7 separate regions of the Homo sapiens genome follow, and regions 2, 3, 4, 5, 6 and 7 are each linked to region 1. Evidence: promoter capture Hi-C in 16 types of primary human blood cells and fetal thymus (Javierre and others, 2016). All regions are on one chromosome and are shown on one strand. Each heading gives the region's core, a stretch centred on a gene start or on the middle of the fragment in contact. The rest is flanking DNA. Distances are from core to core; before and after follow the strand shown. Region 1 holds the start of RBM12B-AS1 (RBM12B antisense RNA 1). Region 2 overlaps RUNX1T1 (RUNX1 partner transcriptional co-repressor 1). Region 3 overlaps CFAP418-AS1 (CFAP418 antisense RNA 1). Region 4 overlaps PLEKHF2 (pleckstrin homology and FYVE domain containing 2). Region 5 has its middle 2.8 kb from the start of NDUFAF6. Region 6 holds the start of TP53INP1 (tumor protein p53 inducible nuclear protein 1). Region 7 holds the start of CCNE2 (cyclin E2).

Evidence for each region. The method cuts DNA at HindIII sites, captures the fragments that hold promoters and counts their contacts. A CHiCAGO score of 5 or more calls a contact.
Region 2: a fragment that was not itself captured here is called in contact with the fragment with the promoter of RBM12B-AS1 in region 1 in 1 of 17 cell types (erythroblasts); the score reaches 6.8 in erythroblasts.
Region 3: a fragment that was not itself captured here is called in contact with the fragment with the promoter of RBM12B-AS1 in region 1 in 5 of 17 cell types (non-activated CD4 T cells, naive CD4 T cells, total CD8 T cells and 2 more); the score reaches 9.8 in non-activated CD4 T cells.
Region 4: a contact is called between a fragment that was not itself captured here and the fragment with the promoter of RBM12B-AS1 in region 1, in 1 of 17 cell types (naive CD8 T cells). The highest score is 6.5, in naive CD8 T cells.
Region 5: a contact is called between a fragment that was not itself captured here and the fragment with the promoter of RBM12B-AS1 in region 1, in 1 of 17 cell types (total CD8 T cells). The highest score is 6.5, in total CD8 T cells.
Region 6: the fragment with the promoter of TP53INP1 here is called in contact with the fragment with the promoter of RBM12B-AS1 in region 1 in 4 of 17 cell types (naive CD4 T cells, total CD8 T cells, non-activated CD4 T cells and 1 more); the score reaches 7.5 in naive CD4 T cells.
Region 7: a contact is called between the fragment with the promoter of CCNE2 here and the fragment with the promoter of RBM12B-AS1 in region 1, in 8 of 17 cell types (fetal thymus, total CD4 T cells, total B cells and 5 more). The highest score is 11.7, in fetal thymus.

What each region holds. Positions count from the first base shown.
Region 1 is chr8:93,738,591-93,741,528 of GRCh38, reverse strand. It overlaps RBM12B-AS1 (RBM12B antisense RNA 1), which reads right to left and starts at 1,418. Exons shown (of 1, transcript NR_027259.1): 1 at 710-1,418. RBM12B (RNA binding motif protein 12B) reads left to right here and starts at 520. Exons shown (of 4, transcript NM_001377960.1): 1 at 520-648; 2 at 833-900. It overlaps RBM12B-DT (RBM12B divergent transcript), which reads right to left and starts at 446. Exons shown (of 2, transcript NR_183450.1): 1 at 70-446. RefSeq lists an enhancer at 494-613. The HindIII fragment of the contact is 1,858 bases long and covers 466-2,323 here.
Region 2 is chr8:92,093,000-92,095,937 of GRCh38, reverse strand. All of the region lies in intron 1 of RUNX1T1 (RUNX1 partner transcriptional co-repressor 1), which reads left to right. Among named protein-coding and RNA genes, the nearest start is that of RUNX1T1, 8.9 kb to the left of the region's middle. The HindIII fragment of the contact is 4,219 bases long and covers 1-2,938 here.
Region 3 is chr8:95,271,169-95,274,106 of GRCh38, reverse strand. The region is part of intron 1 of CFAP418-AS1 (CFAP418 antisense RNA 1); the gene reads right to left. Among named protein-coding and RNA genes, the nearest start is that of TRS-AGA2-5, 2.9 kb to the right of the region's middle. The HindIII fragment of the contact is 4,275 bases long and covers 1-2,938 here.
Region 4 is chr8:95,137,813-95,140,750 of GRCh38, reverse strand. The region is part of intron 1 of PLEKHF2 (pleckstrin homology and FYVE domain containing 2); the gene reads right to left. Among named protein-coding and RNA genes, the nearest start is that of PLEKHF2, 5.5 kb to the right of the region's middle. RefSeq lists an enhancer at 2,743-2,892. The HindIII fragment of the contact is 4,112 bases long and covers 1-2,938 here.
Region 5 is chr8:95,020,729-95,023,666 of GRCh38, reverse strand. It overlaps a transcript of NDUFAF6 not described here. Among named protein-coding and RNA genes, the nearest start is that of NDUFAF6, 2.8 kb to the left of the region's middle. The HindIII fragment of the contact is 1,954 bases long and covers 580-2,533 here.
Region 6 is chr8:94,947,812-94,950,749 of GRCh38, reverse strand. It overlaps TP53INP1 (tumor protein p53 inducible nuclear protein 1), which reads left to right and starts at 1,372. Exons shown (of 4, transcript NM_033285.4): 1 at 1,372-1,596. It also overlaps a transcript of NDUFAF6 not described here. RefSeq lists enhancers at 517-566, 737-906, 773-1,402, 1,403-2,031 and silencers at 1,027-1,136, 1,217-1,596, 1,817-1,956. The HindIII fragment of the contact is 4,012 bases long and covers 1-2,839 here.
Region 7 is chr8:94,893,724-94,896,661 of GRCh38, reverse strand. CCNE2 (cyclin E2) reads left to right here and starts at 1,461. Exons shown (of 12, transcript NM_057749.3): 1 at 1,461-1,485; 2 at 2,415-2,454; 3 at 2,543-2,639; 4 at 2,718-2,771. The coding sequence starts at 2,441. It also overlaps a transcript of NDUFAF6 not described here. RefSeq lists silencers at 1-91, 372-421, 592-641, 772-871, 1,252-1,471 and an enhancer at 2,088-2,649. The HindIII fragment of the contact is 5,265 bases long and covers 1-2,938 here.

The sequences.
Region 1 (2,938 bases), core at 169-2,668:
TGACTTTTTTGTATTTTTAGTAGAGACGGGGGTTTCGCTTTTTGGGCGGGCTGGTCTCGAACTACTGACCTCAAGTGATTCGCCCGCTTCGGCCTCCCAAAGTGCTGGGATTACAGACGTGAGCCACCGTGCCCGGCCACAGGAGCTTTTTAGAAGATGTTTTACGCCACACAGTAATGCAACACTGAAAAGACAAGTCGCCTTTTCTCTGCTTTTGCATCTCTTTCCTTAACTTCTGGAAATCTTTAAAGTTTGTCCGCCGTACTTCGACAGTTGTCTACCGAAGATTCTCAGCACATCTACCGGCTGAGCCCTGAATGTGTCTCTGAATTTCTCCCGTTGAAAGTCGAGGTCCCTGGGCTGGGCAGAATCTGGGCATGCGCAGAAGCTCAGCCAACCCCGGGGCTCCGCCTCCCCTCCTCTAGCGAGGGGAAACGGGTGAGCGGCAGCGCGCGTGCGCAAGCTTGGTGGTGGGTTGCGCCTGCAGAGCGCATGGGCAGATAAACCGTACGTCCGTTTGTCCGGACCGGAGGGGCAGTGGGCGCCATCTTCTTCTGGGCTCACTGAGGGTCTACCTGTTTTGGGGAGGCTGCTGCGACGAAGAGTTCCCTCAGCCTCCGGCCTTGTGTGTCCGACTCGGCAGCAGTGGTGTGTGTTTATTGCCAAGTGCGAAGCAGTTCCCCTCGGGGCGCCGGGGGTGGGGAGGGCTGGGCGACCAAGCCGGAAGAACGGGGAAAGGCGGGACCGGCGGCCGCGCCAGTATCTAGCGTAGCTCCTGCCGTTAGGGCACCCTCTTTTCTTGCTAAAACACCGACTCTTCCTTTCCCGTCAGCTTCCATGTGGTGGTGTATGTGCGCTTCCCAGGGATCTTGAGAGTGAAGATCTCGAAGGATTTCATAGGTATATTTTTTTCTTTGCTATGTCATCGTAGTCAGTGGTGGCAGAAAAGCGCTGCAGGCCCAGCTCGTTAGGCTTGAGAAGGGCAAGTGTTTTCAGTTAGATCTGGGGGCAGTTCACCCTCTGGCGAGTTAGGGTGGAATGTTTGCCCTTGAGACGGCGTAACGGAAAGGCACGGAGGTTGGGCGGTCCAGGTTAATTTGAAGGCTGATTTTGGCTGAAAGTCTGGCGACAACATCGGATCCCACGTAGCAACTTTGGCCTGGCGCGAAAGAAGGAAGCTCTGACCCCTGGGAGTTGTGGACAAAGGCTTTGGGCTGTAGAATCGATGCCTTCGGATGATTCCCGTTTGAGGATGTTGGGAGAAATCCTGTGCCATGTGGATTCGTCTTCATTTACAGTTCTTCCTAGGGACTGTGGCTCTCATTGGTCATTCCTTTGGTTTTTATTTTAAACATCTACATTATAAAAGGTGGATCATCGTAAAGAATAATTATGGGTTGGTGTAGATTATTTTCTGCAGGGGAAACTCACGTTTAGAGTGTGAATATGCTACATCATGACCTTGGGCTTTACGAAGTAGTCGCAGAGTTAAAAAAAATTCTCTCCCTCACCATATCTGGAAAATGACTTTTTCTTCGCTAGTTAAAAATCAAATGGATCTGATGAGATATTACTTATTTAAATTCTGTCTCCCTCCCGTTTCCCTCTCTGTATCCCCTTAAGTCTTGATTAGAAGAGGCACGTTACGTATTGTTTAGTTATAATGGTGATTAAGTGGGATGAATCGTTGGATAAAAATAGCAGTTATTTAAAATGCGCTTTAAATTTCACTGACTTAAGTGATCTTTTAGGGACCCACTCTTCTTTTCATAGAAATTTTAACAGATTATTGTCTTCAAATGAACACAAAGGCACAAAAATACTTTTTGCATTCATAACTAGAAAAACGCAAAATTTTAATTGCAGACTACTTGAGGGTAATTTTCGTGTTTTGCTTTTGTGTAATTTAGTGTGTTAAGAGTTGAATTTCTGGAGAATTTGCTTAAGGAAATATAGCATGTTGGAACCACAGAAGTGCCCATTTTGAGAGCTGGTCTCTTACAGTTGGTCTCCAAGGTGTGTTATTGTAGAGGCATAAATGGTACATTACCCTACTGTCTCAAGGGTAGAGAAGTTTAAGCATTAGTTTTGTTTAACTGTGGCAAATGAGAATAAACTTTCTAAATAGTCTGCTTGAATTGGAATTCATGAGATTTGTGCTCATGAAACTACTTGGTTAAAAGATAGTTTTTAAGTGAGGTAGGATAAATTACTAGAGTTTTTTTGAATTTGAGATATAATTATTCCTTGAAACGTCTCTAATTTCTCTTGTAGATGAATTTATGTTCCCAGGGTAAATCCCGTTAAAATTTTTTTAAAAGCTTAGGAGAGACAAGAATATGTATAGCTTATGGTGCTTTCTAAAATATCTTAAAAAGAGTAGCTAAGCCAATTTGCATAGGAGGGAGTCTTGGGACTTTAATATGGATAAAGTAAGTATTCCAGAAGCCATTTGTAGTTTTTGTTGAAGTGTTAGTATGGATATTGGTTTGTTGAAGAAAATAGGCTTTTTTTCTTTTTTTGTTACTGTGCAAATACTTTAATAGCAAACCTGATTAATATTTTTCAGATGTAGAATGTGTGAAGTAATTTGATGTCTTTGCTAGTTTAGCTTCTGGTTAATCTACGTACCCTTTTTTAAAGGAAAACAGACCTCAGTGAATGTATCTTCAGACCCCCACTTTGGGGAACAGTGGTACTTAAGTGTAAGTACTGGATTCTGGATTAACGCAACATTTATTTGTACATTAAAGACATGTAAATTACTCCAGGCGCAGTGGCTCATACCTGTAAATCCTAGCACTGTGGGAGGCTGAGGTGAGCTGATTGCTTGAGCCCATGAGTTCCCTACCAGCCTGGGCAACATGGTGAAACCCTGGCTCTACAAAAAATACAAAAATTAGCCGGGTGTGGTGGTGCACACCTGTAGTCCCAGCTA
Region 2 (2,938 bases), core at 179-2,678, 1.6 Mb after region 1:
TGTCTCCTTAGGCTCTGCCAAAAGAGAGCTCTTGATCCTCCTCTGACCTTGACAGAATCTCGAACATGTTCCAGCCTAGCCCTGGAGCAGGGAAATACAGTTTGCTGGATTCCTCCCTTCTTTGGGTGGTAGGGGCAGATTTGGGCATGCAGGCGACTTCTAGCCTGCCTCTCATTCCCAGATAGCCTTAGGGTAGCTCTCCCCCACTTTCTGGCCCCATCCTGGGGTCTGAGCCCCCGCCCCCTCCTCCATCCCTCCTTCCCTCCTGCCTGTGTCTCTCCTTCCCTCCTGCCTGTCCCTTTCTGTCTTCTCTCTCTCTCTCCCACTTTTCCTCCCTCTCCCGCTCCGTCTCACACGCACCCTCTGTTTATTTTCCTGCCTCCATCTGGGCCCTGCTGATATTGTAATCACCCTGATGCACGTTGGCTTCTCTCCTCTCCCTCCTGCGCTCACACACTCACTCACACACAATGTGCCATCCTGACAAGGCTTTTACTTCTGATAAGCTCCAATGTGTGTTTAATGAATACAAAGCCGCGGTCTGGGTGCCGCCTCGGCCGCGGCCGCTCTCCCGCGCTCCTTTGCCAGAAGGTAATCTCCGTGAACAGGGGAGGGAGGCGAGCAGGGAGGAAGGAGGGGTGGCCAGGAGGAAGGGGGGCGTGGGGAGGCGGCTTTTCTCTCTCCCTCTCTCCCTTTCCAAATGATTCAGAAGTCGATAAGACCAGGAGAAGTGAAGATGTAACATGTTATCTGTCGCTCCTCTTAGCTGGCGGAGAGAATTTACATTTAAAGATTAGCAGAGTGAGAAAGAGAAATCTGCCTTTTGTTGTGTGGGGTGAGGAGGAGGCATCTACCCCTGGCCTTGACGCTATCTCCCATCACCTCTGCTATCCAGACAGGACTCACCGAGGTGAGAATACCGGAGGGCCTTATCTTTAATTGGGTTTAGTTTTGCCAGTCTGAATAGGTTTAAAGAGACTCGATAAAGGGGGAACAATAGATTATTTATTGACTGGACGCTGAAGCCTTTAGATGAAGAAGGGAGAGACAAAGCTGCTTAACAACTTGATTAGTTCATTTTTATTTTAAGGTGAGACTGTCTCTCTTTTGGTGGAAGGAAGGGCTAGAGAACTTTGGTGCAATTTGAATGACTTAAAATGTCTTATTTCCTCTCCCGACAACCCCCTACCCTTCTCAGCACCATGCACCTCCCTGATTTAACAGGAGTTTCGTTTACCCCTTGCATTTAGGATTGATGAACTGAGAAAAGAGGGTAAAGGCTTTGGGATTGATCATTAATGTTTGGTTTTGTGTGACTTGTTTTAAATGCGTGATAAATTGATGCTGACGGTACTTGAATGAGTAAGAAAAGCAAATGAAGCCTACTTTTAATATGGAATTAGTTGACTTTATAGTATGGCTCAACTCAGCCTAGAGGAGAAAAAAAAATCACTACAAGTCTGTTAGGTAGATTTGTATTTTGGATTTGAACCATGAAATCTTTTGGTTGGAGCTAGTTTAAAAAAAGGAGAAAACATGTCTTATTGACTCACAAGTATTTGAAACATTGTAATATCAACTTTAGAAGGTTCTTAAAATGAAGAAAAGTGGAAAAGATGGTTGTTTTGCCTTCTACACATTGTCAAAATAGGTGTTTTCATAGATAGATAGATATGATCCAGTAACTAAAAGCCTAATTAAAATTTGTTTAAAGCCAGGGGGGCATGTTTCCTTGTTGACAGCAGCAGATCGATTGGGTAAGACAATAGAGTCCCATTATTTTACTTCCATTGACTGAACATATTGACATTTCAGGTTTGCTGTTGCCTCAGTGAGCATGATGAAACACTGAAATTCACAGACCAACTGGCCAGAGTGGCACATATATTACTGTATGTCATTTCTGCCTTCAGGTTACCTTATCACCCAGACAGAATGGAAAAGGACAGCCTGGAATCTTTCAGAAAGGGTAGAGCTCTTTTGGCTAAGAAACTAGCAGATAGCATGTCTTAGGAACATCTTTAATTCTACCCCGAATTGGATGTTACAGAGAAATAGGTGGAGCACGTTTAAAAATATGAAAAGCATGCTAGCCATAGATCTTGCATATTTTATATAGAAGGATATCCATTTTCAAGATTTACCTTTACCTGGAGTTATTTACAGTGAGTGGTCAGTCACTATTTAGGTGACCAGTTTGTTGCATGAGTGACATTCATTCTTTTCCAGTCGGGTACTGAAACAGCCAGGCACCTGCTAAATCTATATCTCATAAAATAATGTGTAAGTTCCCTTCAAAAATAGGGCCTGACTCTGACTTTTTGTTTCCAGTTTTCTTTTAGTGGGTGGAATACACTTGATCTTAGCCAAAAGGCCGAGAAGCGATAATGGGTTCAATACAAAGTGAGATGTATGTATTTTACACTCAAGTGCATGCATAGACAATAACTTATATAGATTAATATGTGTATTTCAAGCAAAGGCAGAGAAATACTAAGTATTTGTTATCTTGGTGTAATTTACCCTTTCACACATTTTGCATAGTCTTTAAATAACAAAACTAAGCATTAGGCAGACATTGAGTCAAAGAAATTTGAACCATACAGAGAGTGAATATGAAAAAAAAAACCAGAAGGGACTTAACATATTTTTATGTTAAAGAAATTTATGAAAATATAAATCTATTTTGACTATGACTTATACATGACAATTGTTGCCATCAAGTAGGCAACTGATGCCCTTTACAGTGTTTAGAACAAAACTAGTCCTTTATACAATTTTCATGAAAATGTTAGGTTTCTGTTTGATCAGCAGGTGCTGTTGAGATGAAAGCCATGTGTAAATTTTCAGAAGGCCAAAAGTGTCAATTCAGAAAAGGAAAGTGATAAGAGAAAATGCAATCAGTTTTCCTGTTTTCAATTTGTGCGGGATTTGAAGA
Region 3 (2,938 bases), core at 1-2,500, 1.5 Mb before region 1:
GAGAGTTGTGATTAGTCTAAACTCTCCACAGCTGTGAGAGATGAATGTACAAATTCCAATAAAGATTCTGCATGTTCTGGGCTGAATTTACCTACATGACATCGAGGCCTAATTCAGGGACCACTTAAAAGAACTGGAGCTGCTTCGGTGCTACTCCATTCTTCCATGGCATCAGCTGCTAGGAGGCTTGCAACTGATCCAGGAGGATGCCTCCCCTCATGCCAATGTCACCGCCCACCAGTGGGTATTTGTTTAAAAGGCCTGCAGTATGCAGGGGAAAGATGCAGGGAAGGGAAAATTAAACCTAAGTACATGGGAATTCAAAGAAGCCTTGCAATTCATTATGTGAGCAGCCAGGGAGATTACAGAACACCTTGTAACTGAAGCAGTTGGCCTGAGGCGGCGTGGGACAGCAGAACCAGCTGCCTCACCACCTCTAACTCATTTATAATGGTGCTAGCAAGAAACCAGGCTCAGAGAGTTCTTCAGATTCTTGGGAAAGCCAACAGTGCTTTGGTTTCCTAATTTGGACACCTTTTACCTAAAATACTTCCTTGAATACTAAGTGAATGTAATAATACATGACATGCCCCTTTACCATGTTTTTTGTTTTGTTTTTAAGACAGTCTCATTCTCTTACCCAGGCTAAAGTTCAGTGGCACTATCTCGGCTCACTGCGGCCTCCACCTCCTGAGCTCAAGCCATCCTCCCACCTCAGTCTACCACATACCTGGGACCACAGGTGCAGCGCTGCCATGCCTGGCTAATTTTTGTAATTTTTTTGTTAGAGACAGCGTTTTGCCATGTCACCTGGGCTGTCTCAAACTCCTGGGCTCAAGTGATCCGCTCGCCTTGGCCTCCCAAAGTACTGGGATTACAGGCATGAGCCACGGCACCCGGTCTCCTTTACCATGTTAATAATTGTATCACCTGGAGGCACTTGCCTATTCTTTACGAAATACCTGACACTCAGCATGCTTTCCATGACTGGGAAAGACAGGGGACAAGGATTCACGACATTGTCTACACACGTTAACAATTATGGAGAAAGAAATAAGATTGTTAGTTAAACAGAAAGTTATACCAAAGGAATTTATAGCCCGGTTTAAAAAAAAATGATCTAATAGGATTTGCCTGAATGTAGAATCTTCTAAAGCCACACTACCTTCATCTTATACATCCACATCCATTGTTTAGAGCCCACTGAATTTTTAACTGTATAACTTTCTTTCTGACATCTGGAGATTTTAATAGTGCACTGTAATTTTACAGTTTATCACACAGCCATACACATATGTTACTCTTATGTGACATATGGCATTTCTCCTTGTAGACTCTGAACTCAACCTTTCACTCTCGGTGGCAAACCAGAAAGAGAACATGACTCAAGTCAGGAGACCCACCGGAGAGTTGAATGAGCCATAAATGAAATTCTCAAAATACCAAACTCTGGATGATCCATACATCCATTTTATTAAAATGGGAGTGGGCAGGAATGGAAAACCAAGTATCATATGTTCTCACTCGTAAGTAGGAGTTAATTTATGGGTACACAAAGGCATACAGAGTGGCATAATGGACACTGGAGACTCAGAAGAGAGGAGGACGGGTGAGGGGTAAAGGATAGTAACACTATCTATTGGAGGCTGGGTGTGATGGCTCACGCCTGTAATCCCAGCACTTTGGGAGGCTGAGGCGGGCGGATCACCTGAGGTCAGGAGTTCGAGACCAGCCTGAACAGCATGGAGAAACCCTGTCTCTACTAAAAATACAAAATTAGCCCGGCATGGTGGCACATGCCTGTAATCCCAGCTACTTGGGAGGCTGAGGCAGGAGAATCACTTGAACCCAGGAAGCAGAGGTTGTGGTGAGCAGAGATCAAACCATTGCACACTCCAGCCTGGGCAGCAAGAGCAAAACTCCGTCTGGGAAAAAAAAAAAAAAAAAAAGAACACTACCTTTTGGGTATAATGTACACTACTCGGGTGACAGGTGCACTAAAATTTCAGACTTCACCACTATACAATTCATCCATGTAACCAAAAACCGCTTGTACCCCAAAAGCTACTGAAAGTAAATAAAATCAATAAAATGAAATTTTAAAATGTAAACGGAATAAATTATCCAATCAAAAGACCAGAAAAATGGGAGTAGAAGTGAGGGAGCGAGGGAACACACTAATTTTTTTCTAATATACACAAAAAACAAAACACAGAAAACCAGAAACATTTTCTCTTTTATTTTTTCACCATCTCTCATTGCAAATCTTCTACACGCTAATAGATTCTTTTTTTTTTTTTTTTTTTTTTTTGAGACGGAGTCTCGCTCTGTGGCCCAAGCTGGAGTGCTGTGGCGCGATCTTGGCTCACTGCAAGCTCCGCCTCCCGGGTTCACGCCATTCTCCTGCCTCAACCTCCCGAGTAGCTGCCAGTACAGGCGCCCGCCACCACGCTCAGCTAATTTTTTGTATTTTTAGTAAAGACGGGGTTTCACCGTGTTAGCCAGGATGGTCTCCATCTCCTGACCTCGTGATCCGCCCGCCTCGGCCTCCCAAAGTGCTGGGATTACAGGCGTGAGCCACCGCGCCCGGCCGCTAACAGATACTTTCAACATTGGTACAGATCCCCTCAGATTTCATCTTCTCAAGAGCAAAATCAAATCATTAATGTAAGCCTGTTAAACTGGATGGCCACTAACTATGACTTCCCCTGGAACCATGTTGCAAGGACCGCTTTTTCAAGCAGCTTTTCCTTGCCTTTCTGCTAGAGACCGGTTCTAGGTAAAATCGCCCAGCAAGGCAACTTGGAAAAAAACTTTAAAAAATTAATTAGTTGGAAATCATAGAATATGCCAGGATTCTAGACAAATAACTAGTGTCCGAGTCCCCTCCTTGCCCCAACATTGTCTCCCCACCCTCTAGAGTTCTCTACTCTGACTA
Region 4 (2,938 bases), core at 287-2,786, 1.4 Mb before region 1:
TGTAATTTTGACCAGGTAGAACATCTAGGAACAGGTCTTGTAAGGACCAGAAATTCAAGCTGGGCCTTAAAGCAAAAGTAGTAGCTCAAACTATCTGGGGTTTGGGGATGGATGATGGTACACAAGACTATTCCCCCAGAGAGGAAATAATGGAGCCTAGGCCAGAGGAGGCAAGGTCAGGAGAAGGCATAGTGATAAGAAGTCTGGTAAGATAGGGATGAGACAAACTGCAAAAGAAAGCAACCATCAGATAGAAGAGTTTACACTTTATTACACAGGCCATGGGAAGACAAAGGTTTTTAAATAGGAAAATATTAATCAGACACAGAAGCAGTACACGGGATGGACTGAAGAGAATATGAAGAAGCAAGACTGAAGACAAAGAAACCAGTCATATGAGGATTACAACAATCTCTAAATGAAAGGTAAGAAAAGCCTGAACCACAATAATTGGCAGATAACTGAGGCATAGCAGATAGGATTTAGGAAATAACTGAACACATGGATGAAAAAGGACTGTAAGATGACTTCAAAGGCTTAAGGGTAAGCCACTGGGCAGATGCTAGCTTTGTTTTAGGAGAGAGAAGAAATCAGTTTGGGACATGTTTATCTTGAAGTCCTCCAGGGCATCCACAAGACAAACACATCTGCGGGACAGAGATGCCAGGATGGGCAGGGAGCTCCAGGACAGAGAGATTTGGTAGTCACCCACCTAGAGATGCTGGCTGATGCTGGAAGAAAAACGAGAGCAGAGGACTAAACTTTGGGGAACCCCTAGTTTAGAAAGCAGGAGGAAAATTTAAGGGAAAAAAGAACGGGACACAAAGGAGCACAAAGCACCTTTTCAACCTGCTCTCATATGTTTCACAACTCTCAGAGACTAAATAACCTGCCAAAAGGTCACAATCAGCAGTGGGACACATGGGAAAAAAAAAAAAAAATCAAGGACTAATGGCAATGTGTAACAATAAAATATCTGAAATTTTTACCCACAAAAATTTAACCTGGAGAAATAAACTGGAGAAAGGGGGTGGAGGGGGTGTGGCACATAAAAAGTTTTCCCTCTGGCATTAACTCTAATAGTGAAAAATAAAACCTAAATTTCTAGCTGAGGAATAGTTAAATGTATCACAAAAAGCCATCATAAAAGAAAAAATTTACTACCTAAACTTTTAAAACTTCATAATTGGGGGAAGAACATTAAAGTAATATGGCAAAGGGTCAACATTTATTGATTGATTGACAGGACAGGGTCTTGCTTTGTCACCCAGGCTGGAGTGCAGTGGCACAATCTCAACTCACTGCAACCTCTACCTCCCAGTCTCAAGCGATCCTCCCACCTCAGCCTCCTGAGTAGTTGGGACTATAGGCATGCCACCCTGCCCAACTAATTTTTGTGTATTTTGTAGAGACGGGGTTTTGCCATGTTGCCCAGGCTGGTCTCAAACTCCTGGACTCGAGCAATCTGACCTGCCCATCTTGGCCTCACAAAGGGCTGGGATTACAGGTGTGAGCCACCGCACCCGGCCAACATTTGTAATATGCAAAGGGCTCCTGTAAATCCACAAGAAAAGAGGAAAATATCCCAACAGAAAAATAAGAAACAAATGTCAATTTTAAAAAAATGAAAATGACCAGTAAATTTAAAAAATGACACTCAGTCCCAATCAAATAAAAATTAAAATGATATTCATATATTACTCACCTAAGATGTGGTAAAAATGGACCCTTATATTCTTGACAATACTGTATATACACTGGAACAACTTTTCTAAATGCCATTTTGGCAATAGAAATGCTTTAGAAAGTTTATACAACAATTCTATTTCCAATAATACATACAAAAATTAAAAGTGTACAAAGTTGTTCACATGAAGTTCACTGTAGCTTTGTCTATAATATAGAAAAGCTGGAAACAACCTAAATATTTAACAATAGGAGACTAAATAAATTATGGCACATCCATTAATTTTTAGGCAGTTTTTTAGAAAACACAATATTTAATGTGAAATATTGTTAAAGCATTTTATTAAATAAAAGTTTCTAAATAGCACATATAGTATAAGCCTACTTGTTATTTAAAAGTGGCTGATATGCACCAAAAAGTCAGTAGTGGTTATCTCTAAGCACTAGACTAATAATATTTTGATACGCCTAATTATCTTATAATGAACACATTCTCTCATAGACAAAGCCTTTTAGTTTGGGAAGAAAATACAAAGAAGAATGTGTAGAAAAATATAAGTATAAAAAGTAAAATACAGTTATATGTACAAGTAATAAAAATGTGAGCAAAGAACACAAAAATCTTTCTTTTTCCCCAACTGTTGTTTAAATGAAACAAGTACAAAGAATTAAAAATAGTTCCACTTCTGAAAAAGGGGCGGGGGGGGGGGGAAGATGAAGAAGTTGGTGCAAAGAAGAAAATAGAAAATTCACATCATAAAATCTTAATCATTTTAGAAGGAAGTAAGGTCATCTGCTCAACATGTTTCGAGACTGGGGTTAGCAACCTGACTGGAGTGAAAAAGCAACAGAGAAAATAAGTCAACTTGGGGATAAGAAAAGGATTAGAAAGTAACTAGTATAAAGCAGGTAGAAAACAAGTATGTAATGATCACCAAAAGCGTGACTTTGGGGGAGAGTGTAGGGCAGGGACAAAGGTAGAAAACTGACCAGTTACACCCAGCAAAGGTCAAGGAGAGGAGGGACTATGTGGTCTAGTGAGTTCATGGTTAGAACATGAACTACAGAGTTCAAGGTTGAAAAGAGGGAAGACAACTAATGGCCTAGGAGGGACTGGAGGTGACAATAAGGACAAAAAGCTGCTTAACCAGTTATGACAGAAAAGAGAAAGAGAAAACAGACCCTTGCATCGCCATCTGGCCACAGGGTTTAAGACCTGAGGTAGAGTGGTTCTGAATGATGACAAGTAACA
Region 5 (2,938 bases), core at 307-2,806, 1.3 Mb before region 1:
AGGTGGGTCTAGCTGCTACCAACTAGCTGATCCCAGCCAGCAGCTGCCTACACTTGAATCCCTCTTGCCTCCAGATTTGCCTAGACTTTTCTTGCTATGGCCAGACTGGTTCTTTCTAAAATGTCCATCTGATCATGGCGTTTCCCTACTTGACAGCATTTACTGTGTGTTATATGCAGTCCGTCCATGATGTGGCCTCAATTTACCTTTCTGCCTCAACTCTGGCCACTTGCCTTTGTGACTCCAAGTTAATGTTTTTGTTTAAACCCAAGGTAAAGCACCTTGTCCTCTGGCCCTAAGAACTCTAACCAATTCATGCAACTTTGGTTTTTACTCTCTGAAATTACCTTTCTTCATCCTGTGTAGTAGCAGAACCCCGGTGGTGGGTGTTACCCTTTCATCACCAGTGACTGGTCCAGGACAGTGCATATTTCCCTGATCTGGCCAATTAGACTTGAGAACAAGTCCACTGTGGTGCTTCTGGGAAAGTTGCTTCACTAATAAAAGGAAACATAAAATTCAATATACTACATATGAAATATTCTTGGCAAAAAGGCTTAACATAAAGTTAATTAAGCTTCTAAATCTAATTTTAAAGTTTATAAGAAAAAGACAAGAAACAAGATAAATCGACACCACAGGGAAACAAATCAGAAAAATTCGAAAGAAAAACCCAATGTCACTCCTGCGATTAGGTTATAAAAGGTCTGCACCTTCCATATTTCATCTTGGGTGCTCTCTCTCTCTCTCTCATCACTTACTCTGTGGGAAGCTAGCTGCCATGACACGTGAGGGGGATTAGTCCTTTGTCTGTAATATAGATCATTATTATTTTCCTCAGTTAGGTTTTAGTTTTGTCTTTGCTTGTGGAATCTTTGCCATGCAGAAATTTTGCAATATATTTTTATCTAGTCAAATTTACAATATTTACTTTTATGGCTTCTGGATTTTGCAGTCTTTAAAAAGGCCTTCCCCATTTTAAATGTGTTAAAAGAATCCCTTGCTTTCTTCTAGTCCTTCTGGTTTCTCTCGTACTACTTGTAGATTTCACTTTTTTACATTTCTTTTTTTTTTTTTTGGAGGGGTAAAGATTAGGAAGGTATGAATCTAACTTTTTTCTTTATATCTAGTAGTTGTCTTACTATCATTTATTCAGTAGTCCACCTTTTCCTCCTTTGATTTGAGATGCTTCCTTTTTCACAGAATAAACTCATGCATATACTTTGTGTCTATAGTGTTCCATTTGTCTATTAATGTTCTAGTAGTAAACTCTTTTAACTATTGCGTCTTTAAAATATGTTTTCATAGATATCTAGTAGGGCTAGTCCTTCTTCATTACTCTTTTTCTCTTCCCCGGTCTTCCTGGCCATTCTTGTTTATTTTCCCATTTGGCTTTTAGGATCAGCCATTCGATTAAAATAATTCTGAAGGTATTTTCATTACAGCTATGTTAAATTTATACCTAATGTATGGAAAACTGGTATTTTTATTATATTGAACCTTCATAAACATTTTTAATTACAGCATTATAGTTCATCTTATCAACAGATATAACACATTAACTATGCCCTTATTCAATCCTTATATTTTCCACAATTAAATACTTTTTAGATGAACCACTACTAAAAAGGAAAAACAATTTTTCTATACTTATGCAACCCTTCTGACACTACATGTATAGATCTTCCACACCAAGCATTTTCAGGACTACACAGTTAGGACAGAATCCACAGGTTCAGAGTTCAGTCTCACAAGGCTGCCCCCTACTTTGGACACCAGTAGCAATTAGTGAGTCCTTAGGTTACCCATGCTTTTGTTTGACTTGGCTACAAATCAAGGATTTTCAGGACCTTCCTCCTCAGGTTTGATAATTTGCTATGATGGCTCCCAGATATCAGGGAAACACTTATATATATTTACTGGTTTATTATAAAGGATATAGATAAAGGTCAAAGAACAAATATAACACATTTATAACAAAAGATGCTGTCCCTTAATGGTCCAGAGAACATGTTTCTGACTTCCTGCCAAAAGGACACATACTGAGTTTTTTTCTTAGAATGACAGTGACTTGTGAGGAGCTGTTCTATGCACATACTGCCTCCTGATTCGTCTAGCAACCAGTAGCACGTGCCAAGAAGGGAAAAGGCTCACAGAGTTGGAAATATAGTCTGTTGCCTTGGGATAGTGTTTCTGGACAAAACATTCTTCTAGGGAAATAAGAAATTTCATCCTAGCTGATCCACAATTCTATTGCATAACTGAAGGTCACACCTGGTGCTAAGTTAAATGTTTGTCACTAAAGAGATTTCCATTTGGCAAACAAAATATTGTGGGATTATGCTGTTCCCTCTTTCTGGATTGTCCTTGTGTGCTGTATCTTCAAGGAGGCCATTTGGTGATAATCCCAAATCCCCAGCCTTTAACCAGCCACCTACGGCCTCTACAGACTCCCAAGAGAGCTACACAGAGGACAGTCCTGGCAAATGGGCAATGTTTATTACACTGTTTTTACAAACCCCACTGCTAAGCTTGTCTGGATCACTTCAAAGGCAAAAAGACATGTAGAAAGACAAACCCAACAAAAATGGTGTGATTCAAGACCTAAATCAAAGTAAGCCGCAACCCAAGGCTTTCCTGAGATTTGGGGTTATAGGAGGAGAGCTCTAAGTTTGTCCTTGTCACCACAAAAGTTCTAATGCCCTTTTTCCCTTTCATGAACCTCTACTCATCCCCCAAACACCTAATTAAACACCTCTTCCTTCCTGAATTTTCCTTGACCATAACCCCATCCAAGAAAAAAAGAGTTGTTCCCCCAGTTTTGATCCTATAACAATTTGTGTTCATGTTTGATCACTTTGCCAGGTCTTACTGTGGTGATCTGCTTATATGGCCCTCTTCCCAGACTGCCAAAGGTAGATGTTTTCTTACTCCTCTT
Region 6 (2,938 bases), core at 123-2,622, 1.2 Mb before region 1:
TGGGGCTCCTACCATAGCATGTGGGAGAAAATATTAGAACAAGCCTGATTTGCAAAAACCTAAAATCCAAAGCATGTTCAAGTCTGTGAGACTATCTAGAACACAGTTTTAGCTCTTTCTCCCAAGATAAGGTCCAATGACCATCATATTTTGATCATTACTCCTTGGTGTCTGACAACTCCCTGCACTGCAATTTACATCCTTTAAAACCAGCATTGTTGGAAATGGACTGACTACATTGTGAGGGTCAGAATGTGAGTGTCTTTCAGATACTGTAATGTGTGATAGGCATCCCTCCAGGGTTGCTATACAGCTCACCCCAGGTCAAAGAACTACATCCCAGTCCAAACAGTATCCACATGAGAGCTGATAGGCATCAACGTTACTCACCTGCCTTTGCCAGACAGTTAATCCACCTATATGTGGGACAGAGCCTTGGTCTGGAAAACACTTTCAAGCCCACTGTCTCACTCTCTTGTCACTATAAATAACCTGGTGAGTTGGCAGTCCCGGCGTGAATGCCCACAATTTGCAGGTATGCAAACAGAACAGAGGGGCTAAGTTCCGTGGGTCACATGAGAGCTAGGCTGCAGCGCCTGGGGAGGCGGCCGTTCCCGCCCGGTGCGCTTGTTGTCCGCTGGAGCAGAGGCCCCCGAGCCTGCTGACCTCTCTGCCTTCAGGCCTGGTCTCGCAGTCCCTTGTGCCTCGCCTATAGGCAGGCGGAATCCAGAGCGTGCAGCAAGCCCGGCCGGCTCTCGGTGGCGGTTTCTACAGCAGGTGGGGCCTGGCTCCGTGATTGAGCGGCCTCTACCCCTCTATCTGGGGCCCAGCAGCGGCCCCCTCCCAGCACCCTGGCTACACGTCTAACCCTAGGCTGACCAGGTGGGGCTCTCGGAGGCGTTAGCCCCAGCCCTCCCAGGAGTCTTAATGTTCCTCTCACAGGAAAAAACGTTCTGCGCCCTTTGTGCCCCAAACCCTCGACCCTTCACTCGGCGAGAGGGGTCGCTGAGGGAGAGATCCACCTCTGCCCTTCCCGTTGCCCGCCGGTTCTTCCTCGCCCGCCTCTTACGCACCCCGCTCCCGCCGGCTCCTGGAAAGCCGGCCCCGGCCCCAGCGCTTCCCTCCCCGGCCTAGCCCCTCTCTCCCACCCTTCCGCTCGCCCAGGCCTTCACGCTCAGCTCCCGGTTTTTGTTGCCCGGGCTTGTTTCGGAGCTGAGCGCGCCGCCGGCCGGGCGCCAGGTCACGTGCGTTGGTGACAACCTCTCGCAGGGCGGCCCCGGGGCCCCCGCACCGCCGATTGGTGGGGCCCGGCCTGGCGCGGCCCGGGGCGGGGCAGCGGGGCCCGACGGCGAGCGGAGCGGCCGATCAGCTGTTGCGAGCGCTGCACAACAACAAAAGGACTTGGACTGGCCGGCCTGGGCGCAGCGACCCGAGGGCTGGAGCCGGCCCCGCGCCTGCCGTCTGGGTACCTGAACGAGGTGCAGCGCAGCCCGGCCCCACCGCAGCTACCTCAGCAGTCCCGCCCCGCCCGCGTCCTTCCCCGCCGAGCCGGCGGCCGCTCCCTTCCCCGCGCAGCCCCGCACGGCCCGGGCCCACGTAAGTGCCGGGGGGGGGCGGGCGGGCGTCCGTCCAGGGCCGCCTCGCTGCCGGTTGGGGCCGCAGCGCTGCCCGCTCCTGAGCCCGGCGGGGCCGGCCGCGCGCCCTGCCTTCGGGGCGCCGGTTGCGCGTTCACCGAGCCCCCTCGCTGCCTCCCCTCGCCGCCGCCGGGCCCGGCCGCCCACCCAGTGGGTCGGTCCTCGGCGGCCCCCGGGGCCCAGGGCGCGGACAGAGGCTGACAGAGGCGGCGGCGGCGCGGACAAGGGCCCGGCCTGGCCCCGGCGCTGGGCGGCGGTTGGGAGTTTGGTCTCTGCCTCCTCCCCCGAGCGTGGCTTGTTTTCTTGGCCGCGGCGGGACCTCCTCCTCTCACCCCTCCTCACTCCCCTCCACTCCTCCTCCTCCGCCTGCTCTCGGCCGTTGGATGGGGCCGCCCCTTCGGGACTCGGCGTCGGGGCTCCCGCGGCCACCCCCGGGACGCATCTCCGAAGACAGCGGCGCTTGGGCTTGTGGCCCGGCGCTCTGTCCCCGCCCTGCGATCCCGTCCCCTGCGCCTGCCCTCCGAGTTCCGGAGGCCCTGCGGCTATGGGGAACCTGCTCCGTGACCCGGCCACCGGCCCCCGCCTGTCCGCGGCCTGTCCCTTGCTTGACCTGGCTTGAACTCAGTCTTCGCTACCTGACTTTGCACCTGTGGAAAGAGCGCTCTCCTTGGCCCTTAACATTTAGATCCTTTGGATCGCTCACGCTTACTGAGCGCTGAGTATGTGCCATATACTATGCTGGGGGCTTTGCTTTATCGCCCCAGTTGATTCTCATAATAACCTTATATGAAATAGGCCCGGCTATCTTACACATAGGAAACCCGAGGCACAGAGAGATTAAGTTGCTCAAGGCCACACAGCCAATTAATAAAAGGAAATGGTGTTTGTATTTCAAAGTGGCAGCTGAATTTTACCTGGAGAGTCTGTTTTGCTTGTATTTTCTGATTATATCTGCTCAGTAGGTTAATTCCAATACAGAGTGGATTAAGGAAGAGCCTCTTTACAACTGTGACTCCCAAGGACTTGGGCATCTATTGCTAAAAAAGCCTTTTCTCAATGCACAATAGTTTTGGGAAAAGGGGGAACAATGTGACCCTTGGGGTCACTGAACAGAAGTCATAATGAGTTCCCCCACGATACTGAAATCACCAGCCTGGTAATTGAAATACATTTTCATTTGCAGATGTGAAAAGCACTGGGAAGCTTTTAAGTCGCAATCAGTGTAATTCTGAACTGGCAGCATAATTTTAAAAGGCCCCTGCCTGGAACCAGGACCTTACTAATTTCTGTGACCAAGGTCTTGT
Region 7 (2,938 bases), core at 212-2,711, 1.2 Mb before region 1:
CCCGGCGCGGCCCGCTCGCCGTCCGGCTCGCTCAGGGCCTGGGCAGACGCGGCCCGCCCGAGCTACCGCGGGTTCCGAGACGCCTTCGCACTGCTCCTCCACCCGGGGGATCTTTGTTCCCGGAGCTGTTCCCCGCCTCGCTGCTCCCGCCGCAAAACCTGTTTGCGGAATACCCGCCGCAAGTCTGACTTGACGATGTGCAGTTTTGGGGTGCGCCAGTTGTGGGGGCATTCATAGAGGCAGCGAAGGGACCCCTAAGTTTAAACACCCGGGGAAGGATAAAGGAAGAGCGTCGGGCCCCCCTCCTCCCAACAGCGCTCGGGCGCGAACGGCGCCCTCCCGCGCTGCCGGCTCGCGCGGGCTCCGCAGGGCGCGCTGGCGGCGGCGGCGGGGCGGGGCGCGGCAGGCGGGCCCGGGGCCTGCACGTGGTGGCGATCTTTCTTCCCACCCGGCCAGGTCCCCGGGGACCACCGCGCTCAGGGGGAGGAGGAATGCCGTTCCCGGGCCCCGCTCCGGAGAGGGGTTTTACCCTCTGGGATCCCGGAATTGGAGGTGGAGAAGAGAGGAAGCAAGGGAGGGCGCGGCGTGGCGCGAGCGTTTCCTGCGCGGGGACTGCGGGGTGGCAGCTGGAGGCCACTGCAGGGGCAGAGCGGCGGGTTGGGGGAGCGACCGACCCATGGGGAGGGAAACCCGGTAGGGGGAGCAGGGAGCCGGAAAGCAGGGTTGATACATACCTGGGTGGGCGGGCTGGAAATGCCTTCCCTGGGCGCGCCGCGCAAGGCCGGCGGAGCGGGCTCCGGGTGGTCGCGGACCGGGACTGGGGAGAGCAGAGCCGCACTTGGCCAGGCGCGTGGCTGAGTGGTGTTTACATTCTGCAGCCACTCCACGTTGTGCTGCCGCCCGTGCCTCCCATTGGCCAGCTCTTCAGCCAACGCTTTGCTCCTCCCCGAGGGGCGGGCCCTCGGGTCCCCGCGTCGCTCAGGAAAGACCTGGGTTCCCTGAGGCCTTGGCGGGACAGCTAGGGCGCGCCCCTGGACGGTCACTTCCCAGCCACCCTATGGTCGCCCGAGTCGTGTCCCCCTGTTATGCGCCCGGGCTGAGCCGCAGGCTGACACCCCCGAAATCCAGGAGTTGCAGTGGGAGGAAGCAAAAGCAAACTGGCGGGAGATGCGCGAGCCAGGCGGCGGGGAGAACAGCCGCGGAGAAGGAGCCCCTGAGAGTTTCCCTACCGCCGCCGGCCGCGCCGTGGAGCGCGGTGGACGCGGGCAGAAGGCCCGGTAGAGTGGACCCCACGGCCGCTCCGGGTGGCGGGCGCGCACTGAGAGCAGGGCGCGGCGCGCGGGCACGCGGGCGGACGGGCGGGAGAGGGGAGCGCGCTGTCCGGAGGTGTCAGTCTGAGGCGCATGCGTGCGGGGCGGGACCGGCCCGGCCTATATATTGGGTTGGCGCCGGCGCCAGCTGAGCCGAGCGGTAGCTGGTCTGGCGGTGAGGAGTTGCTGCGCGTAGGGGGGATGTGGGAGGAAAGAAAGCCCAGTTGGGCCGATCACTTACCACAGGCGGGAGCCTCAGGGAGGAAAATCGGGAGGGCTGAGAACTAGACGACTGGGGGTCATGGGTTCCCGCGTTCCGTCCCTGTCAGGAACCTTGGCAGGGGACCGGGAAGCGGCTGGGCATGGAGAGCCGCCCCTCATTCTAGGGGCTTCTCTATCCCACCCTCATTTGGGGAGCTATCCCGTGGGAGAGAGGATGGGAGGCCGGGTCCCCTCCATGGGGAGAAAAGTTCCCAGCCAGCCCAGTCTCCCCTTTCTTTAGCTCCTTTTCCTGCCCTCCCCCACGCCCTCCGCTTCCCATCTGGAGTTGGGGTCCCGGCGCCCCTCCGAGCGGCGGTAGGGCGGCAGGGCCGGGAAGGAGGGAAAGGAGACTGGAGGCCGTGACACCAGTCTTGGTTCCTCCGCCCCCTGCTTCCCCGCCACCGCCGCTCTCCAAATTGGCGCGGAACCGGCTTCTCCACAGCATTTCGCCTCCACAACCCCCTCTCCCCGCTGGTCCAGGAGGGAGGCGGGACGTGGGGGCGCTGCCCAAGCCCCACTCCCGGTGTACGGGGGAGAGGGTGGAGGACCCAGAAAAACCCGTTTGAGGAAGATGTGCCTCCCTGCGCGTTCAAGGTGTCAGGAGTGCTTGGTAAATTTTTGGACACTCGCGTTCCAGCTGTACATTCAGTTGAGGAAATGCAGGCTTGTATCCAAAATGAATTACCATGAGCTAGCTAACATAGCACAGAAGATGGCAGGGTCACAGGGCCCAGGCCCCCTTCGGAGGGACTGAGCTTTCACCTGCGAATCAGCGTCTTACTGGCACTTGGAGAATGTGAATGACAATGTACTTGACTGCGGCTTTTCCTCTCCCCCCTTCAGAGGTTTTATACACCTGAAAGAAGAGAATGTCAAGACGAAGGTAACATTATCTGTCTTAGAGACATGTTTCAAATTAGTTGCTGCCTTTAACTTACTAATTACACTTCCTTTTTAAAAATTCACTACAGTAGCCGTTTACAAGCTAAGCAGCAGCCCCAGCCCAGCCAGACGGAATCCCCCCAAGAAGCCCAGATAATCCAGGCCAAGAAGAGGAAAACTACCCAGGTGATTTAAGGAGAAAGAGGGAGGAACGAAATTCCATGCTGGGACTTTAGTTTACCAATGGTCTTTTCTATTTTCCAGGATGTCAAAAAAAGAAGAGAGGAGGTCACCAAGAAACATCAGTATGAAATTAGGGTAATGCAGAACTGGGCTGGGTGGGTTTGGGGGAAAAATGGAGGATAGATGAATAAGAATAGAATTATGTGTTTATTGCTTTGCGATAGATTCCTCTGACACTTTTACTTTTAATGCCCCTAGAGGTCAGCAGGAAGGCGCCTATCTTTGGGTGGTTTCTATGTGCC